2 separate regions of the Homo sapiens genome follow, and region 2 is linked to region 1. Evidence: promoter capture Hi-C in 16 types of primary human blood cells and fetal thymus (Javierre and others, 2016). All regions are on one chromosome and are shown on one strand. The core of a region is centred on a gene start or on the middle of the fragment in contact, and the rest is flanking DNA. Distances in the headings are between cores, read along the strand shown. Region 1 holds the start of GZMB (granzyme B). Region 2 overlaps LINC02286 (long intergenic non-protein coding RNA 2286).

Region 1 (2,842 bases), core at 188-2,687:
AGGATAAAATAAATTGCATTGTATGTACAATGTGATCCCAAGTATTTAAAACACACTGCTTATGGTAACAGTCAGTCTGTGGGAGACAGGTTAAAAAGTGATATTTTCCCTTCCTACTTTCCAAATTTTCTTAACAAACATATATTATGACTATAATCAGAAAAAATTATTTTTAAAACGTCTACTATGGGGCAAGCTAGGTTCAAAAAATAGAAGTTTGATAAATGTAGTTGGCTTGCTATTGACAAGGAAGACGTTTACACTGGAATTCTATATTTTGAGATATACCATTCCTCATAGAAAAATTTCCTCACAGAAAATATAAAGGTGGAAACAAATCACAAGAATCGAACCATGTAGAGAGACTTAGTTGTCTTTTAACAGAATTGGGCACGGGCTGTTCAGAAACAACAATCTTTCACATCCATTATAATGATAGCATTAGTGTAGTTTGTTTAGCAAATGTTTACTGTGAGCCTGTTATGTGCTGAGCCTGCTATGTAAGAAGTGTGGCTCTCTGGACAGGAGACAGAATACTAAACAACACAACTACTGATCTTTGGCTGCCTGGCATGCTTCCTCACTTCATATGGTATCAGCAATTTAGCACCACAAACGTCCTTTAGAGAACCAGCCCTTTCTCATTCTTGGTTCTAGTGGCTTGAGTAGACTGACCCCAGCCTACCCAAAGTGGATTTGACTCCTAGCAATTCATTAATCTAGCCCAATAAAATGTCAAGTACAGGACTTTTATTGAAAGCATTCAGAAAAGAGGTGGACTCTCACACTAAACATTTGTAACTAAATAAGGGATGTTAGAAATTCTCTAGAAAGGAAGCTATGATAATAAATGGGTTGCTAGATGGGTCTAGTAGATGGTGGCCATGCTTTGTTACTGCCTTGTGTATTGTGCTACCATAGCCCTCCCCAAACTGTACTCTGGCTCCTGGCATTTCCGTCTCTTCAACCAGATGGTCAGCTCTCTAAGTGAAGGAGACACATCTCCAACATGCTTGGTTCTAGCACAACAGAAGGGCTCAAACACATACCTGCTAAAGAAACTATCCTGATGGATTTAGCAGCATGGCCATGAGGCATTGGCGGTTCTATCACTGGGAACTCAGGTTTCTGGTGCTCCAGTACCTCTACTGGCTGATACCACATCCTACAATTCACTTCATAGGCTTGGGTTCCTGCTCTGGGCTGAATAGGTGGTCCACTCTGAGTCATCAGCTGTGGGTGATGATGTGGTCACTGCATGATTCTCACACAAGCACCCAGAGGACGTCATCAGGCAGAGGCAGTGGGGGTGGGCAGCATTTACAGAAAATCTGTGATGAGACACCACAAAACCAGAGGGGAACATGAAGTCACTGAGCCTGCTCCACCTCTTTCCTCTCCCAAGAGCTAAAAGAGAGCAAGGAGGAAACAACAGCAGCTCCAACCAGGGCAGCCTTCCTGAGAAGATGCAACCAATCCTGCTTCTGCTGGCCTTCCTCCTGCTGCCCAGGGCAGATGCAGGTGAGTGACCGTCTCCACCCTCGGGGGCCCAACCCCATCCCACAGGTCTCCTGCCCTTTCTCCACATTCCTGATCCATCTATCTACCAGGAATGTTCTGAACTCCAGCTCCCATTCTACCAAGACCCCCCAAGTGTGATGCTGGATAAGCTATCAGCAGGAATGGCAGAGCAGCAGGCCATTCTCAAGAAGAGCCAGTGGGTACTATCCCTTCCCCAGAGCCCACCTTTGTCACCTGGAGAGTAGGACTTTCCTAGAAGTAAATGGCAGAGGATGGGAAACTAGAAAAGAGAAATATTAAATTATTCTAGAGTAGGCCTGGCTTCTGTTTCTGGGATAAGACAGGTGCTTCTCTCACTGTCTACTTAGGAGAGAAACCCAGAGCTCAGCTGACAGCAGAATTGGTACAATCACTGTCCTCAGAACACTGTTAATGTGTTTGCTCAGTCCCATTCTCCAACTCTGCTTTTCTTCCCTGGCCTTTGGTGGCTCCCCTCTTTCCAAGGATGAGGCACTACGGCAGGCCCCAGCTTCCCTGCTTTCTAGAATTCCACCAGCACTGCTCTACCAGCCCTCATCCAGAGGCTAACTGGAGCCAGTCCATCATGCAGCCATGAACATTTACTGGGCACCCACTACATGTCAGGCTCTAGGAAACAGGATATGACAGTATCTAGATCCCTCCACTTACACCCTGGCCATTAGAAAGCAGCACTATCCTAGACACCACAGGACTCATAAGGGTCTTGGAAACTCACCTGAAACAAAGCAAAGTCAGGAGAGGAATGATCAGGAGCCTCTGGGATTTCACTGTCCCTAAGACAGGTATGCTCGCCTTCAACTACATATGGAAGAAAGATTTACAGACCAAAGTCTGCTGTTCTTCCCTTTTTCAGAGCAGGAAATTGAAGCCCCTTCCTCCAGGCCACTCCCAACTCCAGGCTATCCCAGGCTCCCAAATGCCCAGGAGTTCTGGAGCCACTAAGCAGGTGCCCACCCAGCAGATTCCATGGGTGCCCACAAGCAGACAGACTTTTCCTTCAGGGGAGATCATCGGGGGACATGAGGCCAAGCCCCACTCCCGCCCCTACATGGCTTATCTTATGATCTGGGATCAGAAGTCTCTGAAGAGGTGCGGTGGCTTCCTGATACGAGACGACTTCGTGCTGACAGCTGCTCACTGTTGGGGAAGGTGAGGAGCAGAAAACAGCCCACACCCTCCTGGAAACACTCCACAGAGACCCCTGCCTTCTTCCCAAGGAGCTCCCTGGGCTCCTGTGAACACACATGCCAGGAGGTCTCCTTAGAGGGTGAGAAAAGGG
Region 2 (2,789 bases), core at 135-2,634, 500 kb before region 1:
TCTTGCCTTCACAAGACCCTGGAGGCATTATCTCTTACCTTTATCTGTGCTTCCCATGAAGTTGGTACAGTGCTTGCTCCCTATAAGCACTCAGCTAATGCCGATTCATACAGCATAAAAGTTTCTAAAACTTGGTAGGGGATAGAGTCTTTTTTTTTTAAAAAAAAAAAAAAGGGGGGGGGATCCAGAATAACAAGATGTTCTAGACTTTAGAACAGTTCATATGGCTATTAGGTCATCCTCCGAGATTCACATTCTTGTGAATGTGGTACAATCTTGAATGTTTTTAAGGAATCCTCTGGCTCTGGGTTTGTCTAGGCAATAGAAAATGAAGACTCTAACCCCAAGGAGGGCAAAGCTCCTGGGAAGTAACGTGAACACCTCATCTCACCACCTCTGCCTTGGGAGTCAACACAAATTTATCTTTAAGAAAAAGCAGACATCCTAAAGAACTCCAGGGCCAATGGAGGACCCTGGCCTTCCTCGGAAGCTGACACAGAAGGCTAAACCTTGCTCACTCTCAATCTAATTTCCCTAAGCTCATTTTTAACCGGTCAGGTCACCACAACCCAAATAGCCAGCATTCCCACAAGAATAGGTCCAGGTCAGGATAGCTGTATTTATTGTATTAATAGTATGATACCCACAATAAAGGAAATGAGAAGCCCATCCTCCCATCATGAACTCAGCCCTGCACTGACCAAACCCAACGGAGCAGTCAAGGAGCCACAATTTAAGACAATGACATATTAAACTGAGGCAAGAGGTGAGAGACTAAAACTGCATTTTGAGGAATCATTAAAAGAAGCTGAGGGTGTTTGACCAAGAAAAGAGAAGGCCTGGTAGCTGCATTGTAGAATTTGAAGGAAGAAAGTATATGAAAGATGTTGACCATTCCAAAGCCAGACAGATGGCAGAATTAGAAGCAGTGAGTGAAACATATACAGGGCAGATGTCTTAGTCTAGGTTCCTTAGAAAACAGACTCTAAGGCAAAGCTTAGGCATTACTGCTTTCTCTGGGGGCAAAAGGTAAAAAAAAAAAAAAAAGACATGCATGGCAAGGAAGGAGGGAGAGCAAGAAAAAAATAGTATGTTATCAGGCTGTACACAGCTTCCCAAGAAACACCGCTGGTCACACGTCTCTGCAGAAGCAGGGCAGGCACTGCACTATGCAGCAGTCAGCAGGAAGAAGAGGAGCTAGTCATTTATTTCCCGGATACTTCCTGACTCTTCACTCTCCACATGGCACAAATATCCCTACACTTCTTTTTGTTTTGTTTTGTTTTGAGACAGAGTCTCACTCTGTCACCCAGGCTGGAGTGCAGTGGTATGATCTCAGCTCACTGCAACCTCCGCCTCCTGGGCTCAAGGGATTCTCCTGTCTCAGCCTCCCCAGTAGCTGGGACTCCAGGTATGTGCCACCATGCCCAGCTAATTTTTGAATTTTTAGTAAAGATAGGGTTTCACCATGCTGGCCAGGCTGGTCTCAAACTCCCTATCTCAAGCGATCCGCCCTCCTCAGCCTCCCAAAGTGAAATACCCCTAAACTTCTTAGTAACCTTCTCCTACCCCTTCAAGGGGCACTGAGAGAACCAGAGCCTCAGTGGTGCAGCAGGATCTGATCTGGCCCAAGCCCTGGAGTTGCCACAGCTCCTACCACAGAAAATGTGACCAAGGCTGTGCCAAAGCCCAGCCGTCACACCCAGGAAAGTCAGAAACTACTGAGTGTAAGGAGATGAGGTGGCCACAATGGCAGTGGCGGCCAAAGCTTTATAACTGCAGGAATGGCCAGAAGCTGGGCTAACAGCCGAGGCTGTGGGGATGGGTTCATAGACCACACCAGAACATTAGGTTTTAGTAAGATGTCAGTTTGAAACCATTTAACATTTGAAACCATCTAACGATAGAATTAGCCAGTGCTTTTCAAACATTACGTATATATGAGTACCCAGTACCCAGGAATCCTGTCAAGGGAAGATTCAGATTCAGCAAGTCTGGGATAGGGACTCAGATCGAGCATTTCCTACTAACTCTCCAGGGATGCCCCGTTGCTACCCCCAGGCTACACTCTGAATATTAGGTGAATGTTCTGCTTCACAAAGTGGTGAGTTTTACATCCCTAGGTGTGTTTTAGCAGATCCTGAATTGATTGATCTTCTGTCACAAAAAGTCAGGTATTTTGCAGAAAAGGTCTCCTGCCTGGGAATAAAAGGTTGAACTAAATGACCACTGTAGAACTTTCCAAATCTAAGATTTTTATTTATTTACCAAAACCTGATGAGCACTAAACCAATAATGAATGATACATTAGTTTAAAAAGAAGAAATGCCTAGCTTTAATCTTATTCATTGCTCACTTTTCAATGACTCCTTATCAAATCCAAAGTACAATTAGCCAAGATCCTGATTGAAATTTAGAGCTTTACCTAATGACGACTGACCAGAAATGGATGTAATTCAGTCAGTAACTAATATGAGTGATGTTTTTCTCATCATCTCCCTTTCAAAATCCTTCCTCAACCACAAGAAACTCAAGGAGTAAATGCAGAGATGTTAAAAGGTATAGACAGGACATCTAGGATTATAGGATTATTAGAGACTGTCTCCTCCAGACTCTTATCAAGCCTGAGTTAAGTGTAACGTGAAAATTCAATCCTTTCACTTCATTCCCTGATGAATGAAAACCAAAAGAAAATCTCAATCCAGACGCTTAGGAATGTGAGTTTCTAGACAGCTGAGTTTTCTAGCAAGATAAAAGCTAACGCTTTAGAACTAGATATATTTTTCCTT

Evidence for each region. Contacts are between HindIII fragments. The CHiCAGO score rates a contact against its expected background, and 5 or more counts as called.
Region 2: a fragment that was not itself captured here is called in contact with the fragment with the promoter of GZMB in region 1 in 1 of 17 cell types (total CD8 T cells); the score reaches 5.7 in total CD8 T cells.

Annotation. Positions count from the first base shown.
Region 1 is chr14:24,632,785-24,635,626 of GRCh38, reverse strand. GZMB (granzyme B) reads left to right here and starts at 1,437. Exons shown (of 5, transcript NM_004131.6): 1 at 1,437-1,521; 2 at 2,565-2,712. The coding sequence starts at 1,467. GZMH-AS1 (GZMH and GMZB antisense RNA 1) reads right to left here and starts at 2,525. Exons shown (of 3, transcript XR_007064087.1): 1 at 2,279-2,525; 2 at 1-1,331. RefSeq lists an enhancer at 859-2,058. The HindIII fragment of the contact is 9,884 bases long and covers 1-2,842 here.
Region 2 is chr14:25,133,295-25,136,083 of GRCh38, reverse strand. All of the region lies in intron 3 of LINC02286 (long intergenic non-protein coding RNA 2286), which reads left to right. Among named protein-coding and RNA genes, the nearest start is that of LINC02286, 22 kb to the left of the region's middle. The HindIII fragment of the contact is 772 bases long and covers 999-1,770 here.